Linked DNA regions of Homo sapiens: regions 2, 3 and 4 are each linked to region 1. The links are contacts of gene promoters, found by promoter capture Hi-C in blood cells and fetal thymus (Javierre and others, 2016). All regions are on one chromosome and are shown on one strand. The core of a region is centred on a gene start or on the middle of the fragment in contact, and the rest is flanking DNA. Distances in the headings are between cores, read along the strand shown.

Evidence for each region. The method cuts DNA at HindIII sites, captures the fragments that hold promoters and counts their contacts. A CHiCAGO score of 5 or more calls a contact.
Region 2: a contact is called between a fragment that was not itself captured here and the fragment with the promoter of GOT2 in region 1, in 1 of 17 cell types (activated CD4 T cells). The highest score is 5.1, in activated CD4 T cells.
Region 3: a contact is called between a fragment that was not itself captured here and the fragment with the promoter of GOT2 in region 1, in 2 of 17 cell types (activated CD4 T cells and non-activated CD4 T cells). The highest score is 5.6, in activated CD4 T cells.
Region 4: the fragment with the promoter of ZNF319 here is called in contact with the fragment with the promoter of GOT2 in region 1 in 1 of 17 cell types (activated CD4 T cells); the score reaches 6.8 in activated CD4 T cells.

The regions. Positions count from the first base shown.
Region 1 is chr16:58,730,095-58,735,735 of GRCh38, reverse strand. GOT2 (glutamic-oxaloacetic transaminase 2) reads left to right here and starts at 1,420. Exons shown (of 10, transcript NM_002080.4): 1 at 1,420-1,596. The coding sequence starts at 1,508. RefSeq lists enhancers at 1,296-1,375, 1,075-1,693 and silencers at 1,816-1,905, 2,006-2,095. The HindIII fragment of the contact is 10,522 bases long and covers 1-5,641 here.
Region 2 is chr16:58,180,527-58,186,564 of GRCh38, reverse strand. It overlaps CSNK2A2 (casein kinase 2 alpha 2), which reads left to right. Exons shown (of 12, transcript NM_001896.4): 4 at 2,255-2,305. Among named protein-coding and RNA genes, the nearest start is that of CSNK2A2, 15 kb to the left of the region's middle. The HindIII fragment of the contact is 181 bases long and covers 4,501-4,681 here.
Region 3 is chr16:58,119,764-58,125,273 of GRCh38, reverse strand. The region is part of intron 1 of CFAP20 (cilia and flagella associated protein 20); the gene reads left to right. Among named protein-coding and RNA genes, the nearest start is that of CFAP20, 6.9 kb to the left of the region's middle. The HindIII fragment of the contact is 219 bases long and covers 1,229-1,447 here.
Region 4 is chr16:57,997,207-58,002,938 of GRCh38, reverse strand. ZNF319 (zinc finger protein 319) reads left to right here and starts at 2,267. Exons shown (of 2, transcript NM_020807.3): 1 at 2,267-3,446; 2 at 4,417-5,732. The coding sequence starts at 4,674. It overlaps USB1 (U6 snRNA biogenesis phosphodiesterase 1), which reads right to left and starts at 1,532. Exons shown (of 7, transcript NM_024598.4): 1 at 1,358-1,532; 2 at 294-460. The coding sequence starts at 1,455. RefSeq lists enhancers at 1,294-1,393, 1,420-1,714, 1,887-2,056, 2,914-3,183 and silencers at 1,474-1,723, 2,014-2,613, 2,664-2,793. The HindIII fragment of the contact is 9,268 bases long and covers 1-5,388 here.

The DNA.
Region 1 (5,641 bases), core at 171-2,670:
CCCGGGTTCATGCCATTCTCCTGCCTCAGCCTCCCGAGTAGCTGGGACTACAGGCGCCCGCCACTATGCCCGGCTACTTTTTTTTTGTATTTTTTTAGTAGAGAGAGGGTTAGCCAGGATGGACTCGATCTCCTGACCTCGTGATCCGCCTGCCTCGGCCTCCCAAAGTGCTGGGATTACAGGCGTGAGCCACCGCGCCCGGCCTGCACTCTTGAATTAATGGGCTCAAGCAATCCTCCCTCCTCAGCCTTCTGAGTAGCTGGAACAGGCACGCAACACCACATCCTGCTAATTTTTTTTTATTTTTTTAAGAGATGGGGGTTTCATCTTGTTACCCAGGCTGGTCTCAGACTCTTGTTTTCATGCTATCCTCCTGCCTCAGTCTACCAAAGTGTTGGGTTTACAGGCATAAGCCAACACACCGGGCCCCTACCTTGGTTTAAGAGACGAGTATCAGAGAAATAGACTACACATGAGAAAGACTCGTTTGACTTGTGGATGTGTCTGAAATTCATTTGCTTTTTCCTTTAAAACCGATTCATTTCCTTCAAAACCGATTCATTTCCTTCCACAAACAGTTATCAGGATTTGACATACACGAGTTTGTCATTAATGACCATGGGTTATTTTGTGCTTACTAAATCAGGCCCTGTTTTAGACATAATCTGCTAATCTTATTAATCCTCACAACTGCCCCACAAAATACACATGCGACCCTCTCCATAAAAGGGATAAGGAAGCCAGGTGCGGTGGCTCATGCCTGTAATCCTAGCAGTCTTGGGAGACTGAGACGGGCAGATCACTTGAGATCAGGAGTTTGAGACCAGACTGGTCAACATGGTGAAACCCCCGTCTCTACTAAAAATACAAAAATTAGCCGGGCGTGGTGGTGGCACCTGTAACCCAGCTACTCGGGGAGCTGAGGCAGGAGAATCGCTTGAACCTGGGAGGCAGAGGTTGTAGTGAGCCGAAATCACGCCACTGCACTCCAGCCTGGGTGACAGAGTGAAACTCCATCTCAAAAAAAAAAAAAAAAAAAAAAGGGTGGGGGATAAGGAAACATTCAGGAACGACGTGACATGACTTGTGCTTAGGGAAACTATTAGGGTTGAAAGTAAGGCCACCTTGGGTCCTAATGGCTGTAAGGCATCAGACAAAATACGTCAACTATGTCAGCCTACATTTTCTCATCTTTCAAACTGCCATAACAGCAGCCACCTCTTCGGCCGGCCAGGCCTGGCCCAGCTGGATTAAATGAATGAAGCGCAGCAAGGGCTGGGCGTAGGTAAACTGTGCAGTCATCCTCTTCCACGACCTCCGCTGAGCCCACGCCGCTCCGCCCGCCGGCCGCCAGGGATCGCTGTGACGTGGCTCGGGCCCAGCACGCGGCCGCTCTGGCCCAGGGAAGTCCCTGTCCTTACCTTCAGCAGGAGCCGGTTCCCTGTGTGTGTGTCCGCTCGCCCTCTGCTCCGTCCTGCGGCTGCCCACTGCCCTCCTACGGTCCACCATGGCCCTGCTGCACTCCGGCCGCGTCCTCCCCGGGATCGCCGCCGCCTTCCACCCGGGCCTCGCCGCCGCGGCCTCTGCCAGAGCCAGGTAAGCCAAGGGAAACGGAGATGGAGCCAGGGCGATGGCCCTGCCCCGCCGAGCTGCGAGCACCCCAGGACATTCACCCCTCCCGGCCCCCAAATACACACTGTCACTCACACGCACACACACACACTTTTCTGCCACCCCCTCGGCTTTCCCTTACTGGGGACTGAGGATTGAGCGTCCGTGCCCCACAGTGATCCTCAGGATCCCACATCCCTCTGGTCCCCGCACTGGGCCCTGCAGGAAGGCGTGCAACGCAATCCCTAGGGAAAGGAAGTGTGGCCCTCGGCGGTTGCCGGACTCCCATTCAGTGGGAGGGGTGCGGATAGTACTGGGGCAGCGGCGCCGGGTAACGACCGTGCCCTTGATAGGGTGCCCTGGGGGCGGCGGGCGCACCTGTCCTGGCCCCCGGCCCGCCCGAGTCGGTGGGCCGGCGGCGGCTGGCTGCCGCGTGTGTGCCCTGGGCGGGAAGAGCGCGAGAGGAAGGTTTCCGGGGCGCCGGCATTCGGGCCTCGCTTTCCTTCCCGCACCTGCGACCTTGGCGTGCGGCATTCTCCTGACCTTGCGACCCCCCGAGGTCCCTGTGACCCCGGGGCCCGTTTGGCCTTTGCTTGGGAAAGGGTCGAGGTGTAGTGTGTCTCTTTTTTTGTTTTGTTTTGTTTTTTCCTTATTGCCCCTAAGGAGGTCCGGTTGCAGGGAGGCTATCAATCTTCCTCTCCATCTCCCTGTGCTCTTTCATTCAGTAAATATTTCGTAACTGCAGTTTCTCAGAGCCAGGCTCTGGACCAGATGCCAACGATACAACTGTGAACAAGGCGAGGGAAGGACAATGACAAATGGTCATTGCTCAAAAAATGACAAACGTAATTTCGTACTGTGGCGTGTATAATAGTATGGAGGGAAATTTCAGAGCTTGAAACGAGCTCTAGTAATTCATTCCCAGTGGAGACCGGAGCCAGAAGATTAATTCAACTCAAGAAGCCGATTTGGAGCACTCTCCTTAAGCACTACCTTAATAAGGAACTGAGTTTTAAAACCACCCCCAAGCAGGTATTAACTGCAAGGAGCAAAGCGTAGCTTGGCCTTTCGTTTGAATGTATGCTCTGTGTCTTTCAGCCAGCAGAACTATCTGTCCTTTCCAAGGCCCCACAGCCTTGGCAGTACAGTTTTGCCCAGGCTTCGCACTTTTTTCTCTTCCTGACTTGGCTCCTTCCTGGCCCACTGTCAACGTGTGCTCTTTAAGTCTGCCTACCTAGTGGGCCAGAGCCAGGAGGAGTTATTTATGCAACAAATTTGGAAAACCAAAGGAGTGCTTAAAATTTCCGTCAAGAGAAAGTATGTTTCCCTATTGCAGTAATCTTAAAATAATACCTTGTTTTATGGATTTGGCTAGATCACCTGAAGCTCTAGTGCTTGGTGAAAATCCCTTGGGGTCAGGGTTAGTCATTCTTTCAGTTTGAGAGTCTGACTCATTTTTCTTTTCTGTATTTTTCTTACTAGAATGTAAGTTCCATGAGAGCGGAGACTTTACCTACTTTATATTCACTGTTACATCTCAGCACTATTAACAGTTGCTGGCATGTCTCTTATATTGGATATTTTTATTTTAAGCCCTGATTTTTCACGTAATGCAACGGAAACAAATACAGTATGACATTTTAATGTTGTATCTTAGATCAAAATCTGAACATAGGCTGGTCCAAGTGTAATGGTGTTTACAACTAATTGATCATAACCAGTTACAGATTTTATTGTTCCTTCTCTCGACTAATCTTACACAGGGGAACCACAGTGCTGCAAAATATGTACCAAAAAAAATTCCCTTTTTTTTTTTCTTTAAATACAGGGTCTCACTGTGTTGCCCAGGCTGGAGTGCAGTGGCACAATCATGGCTCACTGCAGCCTGACCTTCCAGGCTCAAGTGGTCCTCCTGCTTCAGCCTCCCAAGTAGCTGGGACTGCAGGCATACACCACCACACCCAGCTAATTTTTTATTTTTTGTAGAGACAGAGTCTCCCTGTGTTGGTCTCAGACTCCTCCCACATCAGCCCCGCAAAGCGCTGGGATTATAGGCTAAGCAACCCCACCTGACCAGAAAATAAATTCTTGAAATAGTTGAGCACCTAATGTTGAGGAATTACTCTTCAGATTTAAATAATGATACCTGATTAGGTGACAGAATCAGATGCCATATTTGGCATGAAGGTTAACTCTTCAGGCAAGATCAGACTTCCCTCCTTACACTGTGGAAGTGATCTTTACCTAGCTCCAAATGGTAAAAGTGGAAAATACTTAAACTGAATTCATCGACATTTCTATTTAAATGGCTCATTCTAATACAATAAAACCTTGTCTGTTGTTATTCTGAAGAACTGAGGATTTATCCAATGGCATACTTGGAACTCTTTGTAAATATGTGGAACTCTTTGTAAGTTCAAGTGTATCATTTAGCTAAACACTGCGAATAAAACTTTCTCTTGTTGACTTGTACTGTAAATGTATAGTGACATGAGATCAGACATAGTTGCAGTTCAATGAAGAAAAAAAAAGATGCTAATGTATTTTGATTTATAATGATTTGCTTTTAATTATTTAATTCTGATTATTTACTTTTTGGTGAAATAACTGAGCAGGTCTCGTGAGACTTTAAAAATGCAGTGTGCAACTGTGGTACCATAACCATTGGTTAAAAGATCACAGACCAGGCACAGTAGCTCACACCTGTAATTCTAGCACTTTGGGAGGCTGAGGCAGGTGGATTGCTTGAGCTCGGGAGTTCTAGACCAGCTGGGCAACATGGCAAGACCCCGTCTCTACATAAAATACAAAAATTAGCCGGGCATGGTGATGTGCACCTGGAGTCCCAGCTACTTGGGAGGCTGAGGTGGGAGGGTCGCTCGAGCCTGATCGCTTGAGAGGTGAAGAGTTGCAGTGAGCCCGCTGATCACGCCGCTGCACTCCAGCCTGAGCAACAAAGCAAGACTGTGTCTCAAAAAAAAAAGATCACAGCTGTGCTATTGTCTCTGCCATTTTTAGCTCTGTGATTGTGGGCAAGCTAATTAACTTCCCTTCTGATTTTAAAGTAAGAAGAATGTGAGGAAAAGCAGTTTAAAAACTGTAAAACTTTAAGTAGGCTTAAGCTCCAGGGAAATTACAATGCGTTTCGATTGGAAAGGCTTACCTGAATACTTGGTACCTAACCTCTCTTGGATGACCAGTCAATATTGCTCAATGTTTGAGGCTTTGTGCCTGTATCCAAAATGTACTGATAGAAATCACTTTCTAGGTCACAGGTTATCAGCATGAGTTTTGCCCCTAGAACACTCCTATTTTCATCTACTCGATTCCTTTAAAAACATCAGAGTTCTTACAATATGTGTGTAGTCTTTACCATTTTAAGAAATGGAATAATGAAAGGCATGGAGGAGTTGAAAGATGGTTACTAATGTGGGGCTAATCAAATTGAGTATTCCCTCTAGGCCAGGTGCCGTGGCTCACACCTGTAATCTCAGCACTTTGGGATGCTAAGGTAGGAGGATCACTTGAGCTCAAGAGTTGGAGACCAACCTGGGCAATATGGCACAACCCCATCTCTACAAAAAACTAGCCAGGCACGGTGGCACACACCCATAGTCCCAGCTACTCGGGGAGGATCACTTGAGCCCGGGAGGTAGAGGCTGCAGTGAGCCGTGGTCACGCCACTGCATTCTAGCCTGGGTGACAGAGTGAGACCCTGTCTCAAAAAAAAAAATTGTATCCCTCTAGGAGGGGAACAACAGACACTGGAGCCTACCTGAGGGTAGAGAATGGGAAGAGGGAGAGAATCAGAAAAAATAACTGTCAGGTACTATGCTTATTACCCAGATGATGAAATTATCTGTACACCAAACCCCCAGGACATGCACATGTACCCGTGAACCTGAAATAAAAGTTAAAAAAACCTCCCATGCCTCTGCCCTTCAGATGCTAGTAGCACCTGCTTTCCCCCAGAGTTTCAACAAACAGAAATGTCTCCATAAATTGTCAGTGTTCCCTAGCTAGGCAACCC
Region 2 (6,038 bases), core at 3,342-5,841, 550 kb after region 1:
ACCTAAAAGTGTACAGAGAAAAATCCCTTTTCTGGGTTTGTACTTCACTATTTTGATTCAGCCCACAAATGTTTGCTGAATGTCTCCTTTAAGCCCCAGCCTCTTTCCAGTTTTGAAAGTTCATTACTGCCAATTTGTGTTACTCTACCTCACTTAAGTAAGCATGACATTTGAAAATCTGGGTTTACACAAGGAAAGAATGAATATCTCCACGTGGACACCTGGCATAAAGGCCTGAGCAGGTCCCAGCTCCACTGACCCTGTGAAGAAGTCTTCTTCTTTCCCTTAAATCAGCATATGCCATTAGGGCTCATGTCACATGTGTAGATAGACTAAAATATTTTTGTCAGTGCTCAGTTTGTAGCCATTTTAAATGTGCTGTTTAATTTTGTTTTCTCTCCCTAGGGAGTAACTTAACCTTAGGTGTTTTTGATTAGCTAAGGTTGGAGACACCTCACCTCCCCACTTTTGTACCCCTTCTTGTCCCATTGCTGTTCTCCACCTGCTGTACCTCAGATATTTCCCTGTTATCCTCCCATGATAGTTTTGTTTATTAAAGAAATAGGTTTTTGCTTCTGGCTGCTAAAGACATCCTCATAATAATATAGTAGCTAACATGCACTGAGTGCTTACTATGTGCTGGGCACATTCCAAGTGCCCAACTGTGCCATGTCACTCAGTCTTCACAACAGTCCATTGGGGTGGGTACCATTTATTGTTTACATTGTACAGATGAGAAAACCGTAGTTTGCAGAGGTTAAAAAATTCACTCAAGATTACACAGTATTGTTGAAGCATAAGGAAAGTTTTTCCTTCTGGACCCTGAGAAGACTGAGAAGGGAAGGGATGGTTGTATGCCAGATTGTAACTAATTGGCCTTTAAGATATCCTGTCCTTTTAGCACAAATTGATTTTATAATGACTAGTTCTGGACTGCCTCATGTTTGAAAATGGGCTGCATTAGAAATGAGTACCCATGGAAAAATGAGCACCGTGTAAAAATATGAATTTCAGAATAATTTTTAAAATGTGAGTCAGTATGTGGTATACCAGGAGCATTTTTGTTTTGCTTTTTCTTTTTTTAAGTTAGCAGAACTTAATTTGTTAAAGTATGTGTATGTTTTACATGATATGTAAGACAAGTAAGTTGAAGATGACAAAAATCAACAGGGACCCCTTGTCTATTAGAAGGTCAGGCTTACTCCACTATTCTCCCGTTGAGAGAAGTGGTAATACTGATGAAACCCTTACAGCTTCGGGCTGGTGAAGAATTTTTAATCATGGCTGCTACTGGGGCTGCTGTTTGGACTCTGAGTTGTCCTCGCAGAGATCTGCATGCTGCCCTGTGGCCTGTTTCCTAGGTAACTTTCACATGGTTCTTGAGCAAAGATTTCTAGATGTTTTTTTTTTTCTATAACCCCTTAAGTCCCTACTTTCTCCCAATTTTGAAAGCTTATTACTGCCAATTAGCGTTATTTTACTTCAATTAAGGAATCCTGTTATTTGAAAATCTAGATTTACACAAGATGATATTGAGCACTTTTGTACTCATTGGATTAAAGATTATAGTGCTTTAAAAATATTTGATTATATATGAGTTTTTAGGAACAGGTCTGCTTGATAAGATGAGACAATCTTTAATGGTCTCTAGCCAAGGCAATAATATTATAGTATAGCTTATTGATAATATCACGGATGGTTATATTTTCCTTTTGGACCCCCAAAAGACCTATGATACATTCCCACAACCTATGATAATTCTGTCAAGTGCAATTCTGGCTTGCTAAACTAAGATGAAAATGTGTCACTTTTTTTGTATATGGCAGACTGGAACACTGCAGGGTGTAAATCCTCACATAACCTTTGAAGATTGGTTAAGGCCATTGGTAGGTTATTCGGAGAATACATTCCTCTTAAAACTTTTTATTATGAAATTTTCAACCATTTTCAAAAGTAAATGAAAAATGTAATGAACTTCCCTCACACATGACCCAACTTTAGCAGTTAATCAGCTGTGGCCAACCTTGTTTCATCTATACTCCCACCACTTCCCACCTCCCACTATCCCCAGTTATTTTGAAGCAAATTCCAGACATCATAAAATTTCAAGAGAATACTTTTCTTGACAGGCTGTCCCTGATGAGTGAATCCCTGTGTTACCTAAGTAGGATTTGGGGATGGGCCATTTTGGCAGAAGCAGATTACATTGATTATTGTTTGGGTACTTAAAAAGCATTAATATTCTCTTTTACAGTCAAAGACACCAGCTTTGGTATTTGAATATATCAATAATACAGATTTTAAGGTGCGTATGCTTTTCTTTCTGGCATGGGGTTAACGGGGTGAGGGGGAGCTGGTGATAAATACTGTGTACTCCAGAACCCAAGGGGCCAGGGCTGTCATTGGTGAGAGGAGGAAATAACAAATTGGGTTCCTTAAGGCATGAGTGCAGGATGCAGAAAGTGGCTAGGGTTCTTGCATTAGGTGAAATTACTTAATCACCCTTTGCCTTGCCTACTCCAGGAGTAGCTGCTCGGCTGGGTCTAAGCTAATGCCTCATCTGTAACACTCCTGTTTTAGACAGCATAGCTTTAGTTGTATGTTAACTTTGCCTTTTGTACGAAATCTTACTTTGCCGAGAGGAAGGGATAGACCGATACAAGGCCCTTGTGAAAAGAAGCAATGCATTGGATTCAGTGCTGTCAAATAACAAAGTGTGTGTTTGCGCACGTGACGTACAAAGAAATGATTCAGAAAAACCAGAGTCAGTGCTTTAGAAGAGCCCTATCGGGTTTTTTACATTTTCTTATAATGTAAATTATTTTAGACATTGAAGTGTTCTTTTTAAATCATGGTTTTAAGCTCGTGTTTCACAAAATTTATTGTTCAAACATTAAAACCTTAATATCAAGGTTTTTGGGGTTAGGCATACTAGACATGGTGGAAACCCTTTTTTAGAACGTAATTTAAAAACCAATATACAAACAAAATAGTAGTGTTGATTTTCAGGGGCACTTGGAGGACTTGTAGTTGATTGTAACTCTGTCAGTGAATAAGAGACTTGTGATTTTGTTGTGACAGGAGCTAGAGACAAAACTAAATCAGCAGTTAAAAGATGTTGGTATCAGGACGGATGGTTCTGGGTAAAAGTAAGAGAACCTTATTCTCACACTTTTTTTTTTTTTTTGAGATCGAGTTTCGCTTTTGTCACCCAGGCAGGAGTGCAATGGTGTGATCTTGGCTCACTGCAACCTCTGTCTCCCGGGTTCAAGCGATTCTCCTGCCTCAGCCTCCCAAGTAGCTGAGATTACAGGCATGCACTACTACCCCCAGCTAATTTTTTTTTTTTAATTTTTAAATTTTTTTTAGCAGAGACGGGGTTTCACCATGTTGGCCAGGCTAGTCTCAAACTCCTGACCTCAGGTGATCCACCCACCTCGGCCTCCCAGAGGGCTGGGATTATAGGTGTGAGCCACTGTCGCGCCTGGCCTAATTTTTCTTAATCACTCTAAAATGACTAAAACAAGGTTAATTAGTGAAAAGTAAGCAAAAGAAGATATTTTGACTTATAAAACAATAAGGAAGTTTTATGTGTAGTATAGCACTTTCCCACATGTGACAGATTTTCTTGTTAATGTGACTCCTTACAGGTGAAATTAGCAGTGAACTCTAAAAAGCAGGGTGTAAATTTTTTCATTCAGTAGCATAACAGCGCTTAGCTGGTAGGGTACTATGCTGATATGTGTAGCTGATCCTATGAATCACCCAGGTTTATCCTGGTATATGTGAGTGGGAATGTGTGTGCATGTCTTAGAAAACCAGATAGGCTTTAATGAAACCAAATATTTTCCTAATGCAAAAGTTGAAACCTTATCTGAATGGAAGTTCGTAGTGTAATTCCCCAAGTTTTAAATGCCTGGGCTTCGTTAATGAGTTTTTACCAATTGTCTGCTACATGTGTAAAATTTCACCTCAGCATTTTGTGGTTTTGTTTTTTTTTTTTTTTTTTTGAGACGGAGCCTCGCTCTGTCGCCTAGGCTGGAGTGCAATAGCGCAATCTCGGCTCACTGCAACCTCCCCCTCCCAGGTTCAATCAATTCTCCTGCTTCAGCCTCCCAAGTAGCTGGGACTACAGGCGTGCACCACCACGCCTGGCTAGTTTTTTTTTTTTTTTTTTTTTTTTTTTTTTTGGTATATTTAGTAGAAATGGGGTTTTACCATGTTAACCAGGATGGTCTCGATGGCTTACCTCGTGATCCACCTGCCTTGGCCTCCCAAAGTGCTGGGATTACAAGCGTGAGCCACCGCACCTAGCCCATTTTCTGTTTCTTAAAGTGACATCTGCTCTGTTGATTTAACAACTGCTGAAGATCAGTTAGTGGGAATTCTAATTCTTAGAGAAATTCTCTCTGGGGTCTTAACCCTCAAAGGGGATGTTTCATACATTCTCTTGTAGCTTTCTTTAAAGGGATTATGGGAAATTAATGTTTTTTTGAAGCTTGCATATCTGAAGTCATTTTTATTTTGTCCTGCCAATTAATGTATTTGCTAGGGTATAGAGTTCTAGGTTATAATTCATAATTTCCTTGATTTTGAAGAGATTGTTCCAGTATTACCACTGAAGCCATTCTAGTTTCATCTTATGTGACGGTTTTGTTTTTGTTTTTTACCTCTGGAAGCTTTTAGGATTTTCTCATTTGCACTCTTCTGAAATTTCACAATGACGTGCCTTCGTATGGGTCCCTTTTATCTTTTGTTCTGCATACTTGCTGGGCTTTTTCCCCTGTGTTTTGGAAAAATATTTTTAATGTTCTTTGATTTTTCTCCCCTTTCTTCTTTGTTCTCACTTTCCAGAACTCATTCAAATGTTAGACTTCACATCTTACAGCTCCATTTTGGTCTTGGAACTTTTTAAAATAGTATCCTGTTCTTTTATGTTTTATGTAATACCTTCTATTTTCTCACTAAGAATATTGTATTTTTTCCCTTCATACTTTTTCTCTATTTTTCTTTGTGTGTGAGTTTTTGTTATTTTGTTATTCAGTCTCTGAAATATCATGGTTTTTGAATGTCTGCTCATTGCTCTAAAGAACCATCAGCCCCTGTCTCAAGGATGCAGGCTTGGCTGCTGGTATCTTAGCCTCAAGTTGAGGAGAACCATGGGGAATGTTGTGCAGACTTCACCTAAGTCTCCCCTTTTCAGTGTGGCATCTTAAACTCATTTTCCCGTTTCCGGTGCACTCTGTTTCCTCTCTTAAACCAACATTGGAGGTCCCCCGTCCTGAACATTTCTGAGGTTGTTCAGTTTGAAGCTGTTTGCTTTTGGCCTTTCGCTGTTGGCAGAGACATGTTTTCTAGCTTCACAATGTTGTTTCTCCTATCTTCTTAGTTCTTACGATTTAATCTCCCTGCTCCTTTTACGGTTATTTTAGAGGAGTTTCAGGTAGAGCAGAGGTGTTTGATCTGCCTTGTTTAACTGGAGGTCCCCTTTGAATGTTCAAGCCATGACATTTTAATCAAGAGATCATTAAATATCAGATGGCAGATGTGTATTTTTGAAGAGCAAATCATGGCAGGAAAATTAAATTCTTTTCCAGATAGTATGGCAGGCCACAAACAAAATCATTTAGTTCACCGTCGTGATGTCCTTTAGTCTTTTTATTTTGTCCTGTGTCCATCTTATTAGGAAAGTTTGTTTTTTTGTCTTTTTAATTTTAGTGTAAAGTATATTAATAACTGGTTTTAAGATTATCACCCAGAGAGTGTTCATTCCTCGTTAATACCAGGGTGAATTAACAGTGATGCAGCCCGCAGCCCATTCTTTTCAGTATTTTATATTTGTGCAATGGATTATAAATTTTGATCTATAATTTTATTTTGTCATAGGGTCCTTCTCTAAGTTTGCTATCAAGGTTATACTATATAAGATAGATTGGGTAGCTTTTCCTCTTCCTATTCTCTGAAAGTTTATGTAAGATAGGTATTATATGGATAGATGTCTTTCAAGGATGGGAGGAAGACTTTGAACTATACTTTCC
Region 3 (5,510 bases), core at 89-2,588, 610 kb after region 1:
ATGTGCGTTATTGCTCTTGCAGACCTTCCAGTGGGACAGCATGTGGAGGTGGAGACTGTGATTGATGTTAATGATCCTGACCCTGTGCGGGCCTGGGCTCATGTGTGTGTTTGTGTCTTAGTTTTTAACAAAAAAGTTTAAAAAGTTAAAAAAAGAAATAGGAAAAACCTTATGGAATAAAGATATATAGAAAGAAAATATTTTTGTGCAGTTGAACATTGTGTTTTAAGCTAAGTGTTATTACAAAATAGTCTAAAAGTTTTTAAAATTTTTAAAGTTTATAAAGTAAAAAAGTTCCAGTAAGCCAAGGTTAATTTATTATTGATGAAAGAAAAATATTTTTAATAAATTTAGTGTAGTCTGGCCAGGCACAGTGGCTCATGCCTGTAATCCCAGCACTAACTAAATAACTAAAGCACAGTGGCTCATGCCTGTAATCCCAGCACTAACTAAATAACTAAATAAAATAAATGTATTGTAGCATAAGTGTATTGTGTTTACAAAGTGTTCAGTAATGTCCTAGGCCTTCACATTCACTCACCACTCACTCACTGACTCAACCCAGAGCAACTTCCAGTCCTGCATGCTCCACTCATGGCCAGTGCCCTATCCAGTTGTGTCACTTTTTATCGTTTATACAGTACTGTACCTTTTCTATGTTTAGACACACAAATACGTACCATTATGTTACAGTTGCCTACAGTATTCAGTACAGTAGTATGCTGTACAGATTGTAGCCTAGGGGCAATAGGCTATACCATATGGCCCGGGTGTGTAGGATGTTGTACTGTCTAAGTCTGTGTAAGTACACTCTGATATTCACACAGCCATGGAACTGCCTAATGAGGCATTTCTCAGAACGTAATCCCATCCTTAAGCAATGCATGACTGTAGTTAGTACTTTATAAGTAATGACATACAGAATTAAATATGGCAGGGACTGAGGAATTTGCTCAAAACTAAAATAAGATGTTTGAACTTAGCCCACCATCCAGATTTCTAGGAATAGGAAGTACTGTAAAACCAGACTCCTGAAATGAGAAGAATTTAGTTGTTGCACCGTGGCTCGCCCAGCCCTAAGCCCTTAATGTGGCTCTAAGGCCACATAACCCATGCTCTGGCACCTGCTTCACTTGTTCTCCAGGCGGGACTCACTTCACCCGGTTCCCCCTCTTAGTAGTAGCCTCCTACTGAATTGAAGGAAGTCCTGTTCTCTCACCTTCAAGCTTTTGCACTTCCTGGTCCTTCTGCTGGGCGCTGCCCCTCACCACCCCACAAGCCTCACTCCCATCTTTTCATTAGGCTCCAGTCACAGTTCAAAGGCCTTTCTCAGAGTGACCTTCCTTAACTCTTCAGGGTAAGTTAATTTACTTCTTTCTTATCACACTTGACATTATTAGCTTCTTAAGGTCTGTATTCCTGGCTATACAGTTTCCTGATAGAAGCTTTTGTAAGTTTCTAAACCAACAGCTTAGAAGAAATTAGGGGTTTCTTTAATGTTACCTTGACATCTGGGACCAGCAAATCTTATATTTATTAAAAGACTCTTACGTTTAATGTAAACATTACTTCTGGTTGTAAGGAAAATACCAGGAGGTTCTGTTCCCACTTATACTTGTGTAAAACATGCTGTAATTTTCAGTCTTTTTTTTTTTTTTTTTTTTTTTTTTTTTTTTTTGAGACAGAGTCTTGCTCTGTCCCCCAGGCTGGAGTGCAGTGGCACGATCTCGGCTCACTGCAGGCTCCACCACCTGGGTTCACGCCATTCTCCTGCCTCAGCCTCCGGAGTAGCTGGGACTACAGGCGCCCGCCACCACGCCCAGCTAATTTTTTGCATTTTTAGTAAAGATAGGTTTTCACCGTGTTAGCCAGGATGGTCTCGATCTCCTGACCTCGTGATCCGCCTGCCTTGGCCTCCCAAAGTGTTGGGATTACAGGCGTGAGCCACTGCGCCCAGCCAATTTTCGGTCTTAATGGTAGTAATCCTGGCTGGGCGCAGTGGCTCACGCCTGTAATCCTAGCACTTTGGGAGGCCAAGGCGAGCTGAGGTCAGGAGTTCAAGACCAGCCTGACCAACATGAAGAAATCCCGTCTCTACTAAAAATACAAAAGTTAGCCGGGCATGGTGGCACATGCCTGTAATCCCAGCTACTCGGGAGGCTGAGGCAGGAGAATCACTTGAACCCGGGAGGTGGAGGTTGCGGTGAGCCGAGATGGTGCCATTGCACTCCAGCCTGGGCAACAAAAGCAAAACTTTGTCTCAAAAAAAACAAGATAGTATCCTAAAAGTACATGAGATGAGATTGCATTAATTCATGAAAACGCCTTTGTCTGTCTTTCCTGTCACCCTGTCTTTCTCTCAGCTGCTGCTGTTTCTCCCCTACTCCAAGACTAAATATTAGACCAGAGTCTTCTGCTGTTGCTGGATAGTGTTAGATTCCCATGTCCTGTTCTAATTTTAAAAATAAAGTCTCTCTTCAGAAAAAATTTCCTACATTCTAGTTTTTAGTTAGCATGCCTTGTTGATAAAAATTAAATTGGTGCTGTTTTCAGTAGTAGAATTGAGTGTATTTGGACATAAAGGTGGTAAAACTTTTTTTCTGACTTGGAGAATGTTCTTCATTATTCTGAGTCAGGTTTTACTGTAATTGAACGAAGACATGGTTTTTTGGTTTTGTTTTTCTTTTTTTTTGAAACAGAGTCTCGCTCTGTCACCCAGGCTGGAGTGCAATGGCACAATCTCAGCTTACTGCAACCTCCTCTTTCTGGATTCAAGCAATTCTCCTGCCTCAGCCTCCTGAGTAGCTGGGATTACAGGCATGCGCTACCACACCCAGCTAATTTTTTTGTATTTTTAGTAGAGATGGGGTTTCACATGTTGCCCAGGCTGGTCTCAAACTCCTGATCTCAGGTGATCCTCCCACCTCAGCCTCCAAAAGTGCTGGGATTACAGGCGTGAGCCACCGCGCCCGTCCGAAGACATGGGTTTTAATTACACTTGCCTTTTCTTAGCTGTGCACATAATTGTCCTTACGCTGACTTAGGGGTTGTTGGTGTATGCCCAGAGTTGCTTGTCTGCTGTCTGGATAGCCCCTGTCAAGTACAGCGAAGGGAGTGAAGCCTTTGACCCTTGGAGCCTGGGAGTCTGAGTCGGAGCTATGCTCAGTTCTCCCCACAGGGGTCTCCCTCTGCCTAATTTCTGTCTGGGAACCCAGCCCTTAACCCAGTGCAGGAACTTTCCTGCTGAAATGGACAGCTCTAATGGTTTAATGTAAATTAGAGCATGTGTCATTAAAGCTAGGATGCCAGATGGCTGAGGGTTCAGCTGCCTGCCAGGCTGAGTGGGTGGGGCCAGAAAAATGAAAGTTGGGGGAGGGAATGGATACAACTCATGTTATTTTTAAAGCAGTCATAGAAATATACAGCATCCACCAGCTCCCTCCCTATCCCAGTAGTAGTATTTTTTTTTTCCCTCAGCTTGACCCACCTCCCTGAGGCTTACATTGCGGGGAGGGAGAGAAATCGGTGTTCTTTATTAGTTGCCCTAGCAACCATGGAAAGCCTGGGAGAGTGATTGTAAGACTGGCCTGAAGCTTTGGTCACCTCTGTTGTCTGCAGAGGCAGAGAACCATTATGATCTGTAATTGCCAGTAACTGGATTCTGAAGCTCTTTGAGTATCTCCAGCTCATGGGCAGGGGAGGGGAAATTAATGAAATAAAACAATATTGGCTTTAGATTTTTATTTTTATTTTATTTTTTTTGAGGAATAAAGCACTCATAGGCCACACTTTGATAGTGGGAATGTGTCATGAATGAAAAAGAATTAACAAATCAAAAACAGTCGGCTCTTTGTGATCTAGAGAAGGACAGAACATGTTAAAACCTGCTTCCGCCATGAGCAATAAATGCTGAGCAGTTCATTTTATCTTCATCCCAAAGCCACGCCTGCCCAGTGACCTCTGAACTGGAAGGAGCTAAGGAAAGGACGTTGATACTTTCTGAGACATGTATCTTCCTGTATGCTGTTTTCAGAAGCTGGTTTTAGGAGACGGTTGCTTTCCTGGAAGACCTTTATAATATTAGGCAATGACAGCCACATGGCCAGGGTGGTGGGGAGCCTTTGCCCCAAATTGCCTGTCGCCTCTCCCCTTTGATCCTAGTTTTAGAGCCTAGAGAAGAGGCTTTGGGAAATTACCCTCTAATGCACATATCTGATTGATCGCCCTTACCACCTCCACGCTACTCTTTTCCAGTGAGTTTGTATTTGCAGCCCTTTAAACTTAATAAAGGAGAAAAATCACAATTCACTAACAAATCCACTTAATTTGATTTCAAACCTCTGGAGACTTTTCACATGGGGATACTTGTGTTTTTCTTCATCGGGGGTTAAACAGTCTCTTGGGGAAAAGCTCTGTTTAGTTTGTCTTACCACCAGCCAGGTTCAAAATCTAGAGAGACTGATGGGCATTCCTTCAACAAAGTTGCCTTGACCCCTCCAAGTTCCCTTGTTTTGTGGAATACATTCATTCATTTTGTAAAACTTAAATTTGTGAGTGTGTTTGTTATCTAGTAACACTGGGAGAAAAAGAAATCTCTTTAGTAATTTATTGAAAATCCAACTAAAAGTTAGCTTGCCTCTGGGCAGAAGTGCAGGAATACTACAGTCTATCCAGCTTCCAGCCTGCATTGGCTTCTGTGTGCATTGTACGGCTTTGTTTTCTTCTGTGAAGACCTGAATAGGTCATATCTGCTGGAGTTCCAGGGAAGTCGTAAACTTTGAGATGGGCAGAAGGCAGATTCCCTAACATTTTCTCCCTGTGAGATCTGGCTGGTCTTTCTGGAACTGAGGGAGGCCTCTTGTTGACACTGGCCAGAGAGAGCTTGAGTGATGTGAAATTTGAGGGCATGCTTTAAATAAGGGTGGATCAATAGCAACATGTTGCTTTTTAGCAATAGCAGTTTTCAGGCCCAAGTTACTTCTTAATCCTGTCAATTTAACTGTCTATTTGCTCTTTGCAGTTTGTCCCGTTTTAAAGAATGGTTATGTTATTGAGAATAATTAGTGGTGTGTTATAAAAGTAGTGTTTGCATCTTGTTGGAATACTGCCAGCTCTTATCAGTAGGGCTGCTCGCATTAGTTGGAAATGATTTCTTCATTAATTCCTTCTTCACTGAATCTGCTTGGTTTTCCACAGAAAATACAGGAGGAATATCGCCACTTAGGTTGGGAACATGAGATGGCGAGTGAGGTGGGCACTTAGGTTGGGAACATGAGATGGCGAGTGAGGTGGGCACTTAGGTTGGGAACAGTAGATGGCGAGTGAGGTGGGCACTTAGGTTGGGAACATGAGATGGCGAGTGAGGTGGGCACTTAGGTTGGGAACAGTAGATGGCGAGTGAGGTGGGCACTTAGGTTGGGAACATGAGATGGCGAGTGAGGTGGGCACTTAGGTTGGGAACAGTAGATGGCGAGTGAGGTGGGCACTTAGGTTGGGAACAGTAGATGGCG
Region 4 (5,732 bases), core at 1,018-3,517, 730 kb after region 1:
CCTGGCATGACCTTGACACCCTGCTCCAGATTCTCCTTTGGTCACCTCCTCGTGAACAGGGAGAATATTATACCCAGAGGTAATACACATTTTAGGCTACGAATTCAAAACCAAGATGACAGAAAAATCCCCAGTTCTTGAAACCTGCTCTTTCTCTGCTAAGTCAATGACTTTCCCACCACCAGTGTTAGAGGTTTCTGGTTTCTTCCTTCTAGTTGGGGCCAGATTCTGCCCTTCATGAGGCACCTACGGGTCTATGGGTCTTGGCAACTTGCCTTTCACACATCACTCACATGGTACATAGACGTGGGTGGCCCAGTTGCCTCGCTCGTGGGGGAAGGTGCGCACCCGTCCCCCGTGTTTTGTGCTGTCATCTTCAGGCCCCTCCTCGGTGCCCGGGAACATGTTCAGCACACTGTCAGGTACTGGAAATCTCTGCCTGGGAAGGGGGCTCTGGCCACTGCAAAAGAAAAAAAGAAAAATGAGTACATTTATCCTGTTAGCATTCTCTACCTTTGTATATACCACAAAAGTTGTAACCCCTTATATATGGTGGCTCTGAGTGTGTGTTTCCAGCCTGGTGCTGGAAGCAGCTTCTAGATAGCGAAATTGTTTCTCCAGTATTGTCTCATTGGGGTCTCCAACTCTGGGGCACAAGGTCCCCATGGGAAACAACAGGGCATGCAACAATGTGGTTCAGGGGTCACATTTCCAAGCTGGACAGGCTGCAGCTGGAGTAGCACTTTCTAGCTCTATGACCTTGGGCAAGTCATGTCCCCTTTCTGGGCCTCAAATGCCTCATCTGAAAGTATATGTCTACCTGATAGAGCAATTGTGGGATCAACTGAGCTACTGCTTGTAAAGCACTCAGCAAAGATAAGGCCTAGCATTTAAGAATCTAAGCCCCAGGAAGTAAGGCCGACGGTTTTGTTCACCACTGAATTACCAGACCCCAGCCTGGCAGGGAGTGGGTGCTCAGTGAATATTTACTGGATGAATGAAAAGGCTCTCCCTACGCTTTAGCAAGTATTACTATCGCAATTGTATTCAAATCAGGAAACGGACCTAGGATGGTACAGGGATGTGTGCCAGGCGATAGAGTGGGCCAGCGCGAGGCTGGACCCGAACCCAGGTCTGGCCTCCCAACTTGGCCCTAGCCAGGTGGGGCCACTCTGGAGCTTTGTCTGGGGTGGGGGGGAGGGGTATATCTTCTGGATCCTCCTTTCTTCCTGCGTCCCCTTTTCCTTCCCAGAGCCGCCCCGCATCCTCCCTCCCCACTCCACCCCCAGACATTCGGGTCCCGTCTGGCTCTAGGGTGAATGCGCGCGCCCTCCGGAGAGACTTCCTCACTCCTCACCGACGGTGGCTCCCATCCCCCGGCCTGGTCCGCATCCCGTCCTCGGACTCATCCTCGGAGCCGCTGCTGCTGTAGCCCACCAGGGGCGCCGCGCTCATGGGGCCTCATCCAAGACCACCAGAGCAGGTCCACCAGCAACCTCAACCGGCACCCGGAGTTCCGCTGTGCCGGAAGCGCCCTCCCAGGGGCGGGGCCTGGGCTGGCACCGCCTCGGGGCGGAGCCGGGAGGGGCGGAACCCGGCAGGACAGTGGTGAAGATTCAGCCCACCGACTCCAAGCTGTCTGCCGGCTGCGCACGCGGATCTGGTCACCTGCAGCCTCCCGGCACCCCGCTGGGACCTCCCCAGCCTTCGTGTACCCATTTCATATATCGCTCAGGGCCCTCACCTTTCTGCCCGCTGCTGTCTGCAGCCACCCGGGACCAGACATACCAGACACGACAGTCCCGGGTCAGCGCACTAGACCCAGCGGAGACCCCTGCCTGCCCCGAGCCCGGCCAGGATCAGAGGTCCTGGAGCCCCCTCCTCAAACCAGCCCAAAGTCCAAGCCCCTAAAAGCCAAGCTGAGCAGTTAGGGGCGGATCAATTGTGGCAGACCAGAGCCTCTAGGAGGCCCCTCCTCTCCTGCGCAGAGCCGGGCCGAGGGCGGTCACCCGGAGCCCCCTCCCCTAAGCCCGAGCGGGGTGGCCGGAAGCAGAGCGCCCTTCCTCGGTTAGTCGAGGCGCCCAGGCCTGGCGACTCGAAAACCGCCCGGAGCACCCGGCTTGTCCGACCTGGCCCGGCCACGGGGTCCCCGGCAGGGGGCGGCCTCGCTCCGCGCCGCCCGCTCCTCCCGCATTGGCCGCCGCCGCCCGGGATGCCGCTCCTCCCCCGGCCCCGCCTCCCTGGCCCCCGCGCCGCCCGCCCGTCCGCCCGTCTCCGCAAGGCCATCGGTCCGTCCGCCCGCCCTCCCGGCGCTCCTCGCCCCGGCCCCGCTACTCCGGCAGCGCGCGTCGCTTCCTCCGTTCCGGCCGCCGCTAGCCCGTCCCCCGCCCCCGGTCCGGCCGCAGCCGCTACGCGAGGCCGGGGATTGGCAGCGCGCGTAGGCCGCGCCGCCGCGGATGGAGCCGGAATAAAGGGGCGGCCGAGAGAGCAGCTGGTCGCCGCTCGCCCCGCGCCTGCCCTGCAGGCGGCCTGGAGCAGGTGAGCGGCGGGGCGCCCGGGGCCGCATCTGGGGGCCACCCCCGCGCCCGCCGCACCCCTTCCTCTGCCGGCCCGGCCGCCCCCCCGCGCCCCTCCGCCGCGACCTAGCGGCCTCTTGAGCTTCTGGGCGGCCCAGGCCGGGCCTCGAGGCGCAGCCGCTTCCTGGGCCCGGCCTGTAGCCCTGGGGCCTTTCTCCAGCCCGGCCGCCCTCGGGGCTCGCCCTCGGGTCGCAGCGGCCGGGCCATCCCGGACGAGGGCTGACAGGACGCAGCCCAGCTGGGCCTGCAGGCAGGGCCGGCGGGAGGTGATCGGCTTTCATTCGGTTTCTCAGGGAGGAAGAAGAGACGGGGTGGGGCGCAGGTGGGGGGCCTCCCCTGCCTCTCCTTGCCTCCTCTCTCCCCTTTGCGGAGTGATCACAGAGGCTTCCTGGCTGCACCTTGCTGCAGGAGGGCCAGGGTGGGCAGGGGGTGCTGCAGACCAAGCCAGGGGACACTGTCTGACAGCCATTCATGCCAGAAAAAGCAAACAAAACAGTGGGTTGGCACAGCGGACCTACAGGCGCTCAGAGAAGCCCACCTTCCCCCTCTCTGTCCCGAGAAGGCTTAGAGTGGTACCTGCTTGCTCAAGCAACCTGCTGCCTCCACCCAGAGCAGCCGCTCCTCTCCTCCCTCCCTTCCGGAAGATGCTGAGGATGACAGCTTTTAGCCTGACTCTTACATTTCTTTGGCAGAGCAGTTAGAGGCCAGACTGTCCTGTGAAGGCTTCTCCTTCCTTCTTCCTCTGCTCAGGAGAAAACTTACAAACTTTTAAATGTAAGAGGCAGATGAGCTGGGAACCTGGAAGTGGGTTGCATCTGACTCTGAAAGTTCCTCCCTCTCGCTGGCATTACCTCATGCTGCCACAAAGTGGTGAGTTAGAGATTTGCCTGGGCTGGGTGGGCTTTACCTTCCAACAATTACCCAGAACTTTATAGGCTTGGAGTAAGGGAATGGAGTTGTCTCTAGAGAGGTGATGAGAAATGCTCTGTGGTTAGCATGCTGCATCCTGCATTGCCAAGGCAGACCAGGGCAGTTTCTTACATTTTCCTGCAGGCCTTGACACTATGAGATTCAGAGGATTTAGGACTTTGTGTGTGTGTGTGTGTGTGTGTGTGTGTGTGTGAGTTCTGGGAGAGAACCAGAGTGAGGAAGTTCTGCTGTGTGGACATCAAGCCTGGGTGGTTCTGTGGCCCTCTCATCTAGCCCCCATCACCTATGGGCTCTGGTTCCTGTAGGGCCACCCATCCTGTCACGCGGAGAGAGAATGGGCCTGTGGTCAGGGATAGTTGAAGGGGTGTGGTCAGTCCCTCATAGGTGAGAGTTTTTGAAATGGTCCTTGGTTCCACGTAGTTGTCCTAAATATTGACTGTCAGAGGCCATTTGCCACTGGGCTCTCAGACCTGGGAGGTCTGGCCTCCTTAGCTCTAAGTGGTGTGGCCCGTATTAAGACTCAGGGTAGCAACAGGAGAGGAGCTGCGGGCCTTAAGGAGGATTCTGTATTGTAGGCAGATAACCCCGGACTCTCACCTGTGAGTCTCAGCTAAAGGGTTGGCAGGAAGCTGGAGGGGACTTGTGGAGGCTGGGATGTCCTGGCCCAGGGGCGGGGCACTGAGGTGGGTGGGGGTGGAGGCCGCTGCCATTTCCTCTGCCTGGAGGAGCTGAGCTGGCTGCAGACCTCTCTGATTGCCTAAGAAGGGAGGAGTCCTGCAGCCCTGAGCACCTCTGCCTTCCCCGATGTGTGGTTTGTGATGGTGTGGTGAGTGCGGGCAGGACAGGGAGAAGGCCCAGGAAACTGCTGCTTGTTCCTTCCTCGAGCTCATACTTTCTCTCTTCTCTACAGAACGGATCACTGGGGAAGGCAGAGTCTCCCCGGCACTGCTGGGACCCTCCCTTGAAGAGCCCCCATGTCCTGTAGGCAGAGCCTTGTAGTCTGTCCGCTTGGTTACTGACTCGGGCTGTCTGACCAGCCCCTCTTCTGTGCCTTGTCTGAGGTCCTTGTCCATCTCTGTGATTGGGCAGCTTCTCTCTCTGGATTGGGTCACGTGAAGCGGGAAACTGAAGCCATTACTCTCCAAACCCTGTTTCATCTTCCCAAGCATGTCGGAAAGCTGGCAACAGCCGCCACAGACGCAGCCGCAGCAGCCACAGCCACCGCAGCCTCAGCACCATGCAGAGCCACCGCCAGCCCTGGCAGAGCACACGCTGCCTCCGGGCACGGCGGAGAACCCCCTGGGCTGTGCCGTCTATGGCATCCTCCTGCAGCCAGACCCCGGCCTGCAGCCCCCACAACACGCACCCCTGCAGGCAGCAGGAGAGCCAGGCCCCAAATGTGGCGTGTGTGGTCACGACCTGGCGCACCTGTCCAGTCCGCATGAGCACCAGTGTCTGGCGGGCCATGACCGCTCATTCCAGTGCACACAGTGTCTCAAGATCTTCCACCAGGCCACTGACCTGCTGGAGCACCAGTGCGTGCAGGCTGAGCAGAAGCCCTTCGTCTGTGGGGTCTGCAAGATGGGCTTCTCACTACTCACCTCACTGGCACAGCACCACAGCTCCCACAGTGGCCTGGTGAAGTGTTCCATCTGTGAAAAGACCTACAAGCCAGCTGAGGCAGCGGAGCCAGCCACCACAGCCGCCCCGTCGCTTCCCGCAGCACCCGCGCCTTCCACTGTCACCCCTGCTGAACAGGCCGACAAGCCCTACAGCTGCCCCATCTGCCAAAAGCCCTTCAAGCACCTGTCGGAGCTCTCTCGGCATGAGCGGATCCACACCGGTGAGAAGCCCTACAAGTGCACGCTGTGTGACAAAAGCTTCAGCCAGTCGTCGCACCTGGTGCACCACAAGCGCACGCACAGCTCCGAGCGGCCCTACAAGTGCGCAGTCTGCGAGAAGACCTTCAAGCACCGCTCTCACCTGGTGCGCCACATGTACGCGCACTCGGGCGAGCACCACCTGTTCCGCTGCAACGTGTGCGAGTTGCATTTCAAGGAGTCGTCGGAGCTGCTGCAGCACCCGTGCACGCCAAGTGGGGAGCGGCCCTTCCGCTGCGGCGAGTGCCAGAAGGCCTTCAAGCGGCCCTCGGACCTGCGGCAGCATGAGCGCACACACAGCGCCGAGCGGCCCTTCAAGTGCGACCTGTGCCCCATGGGCTTCAAG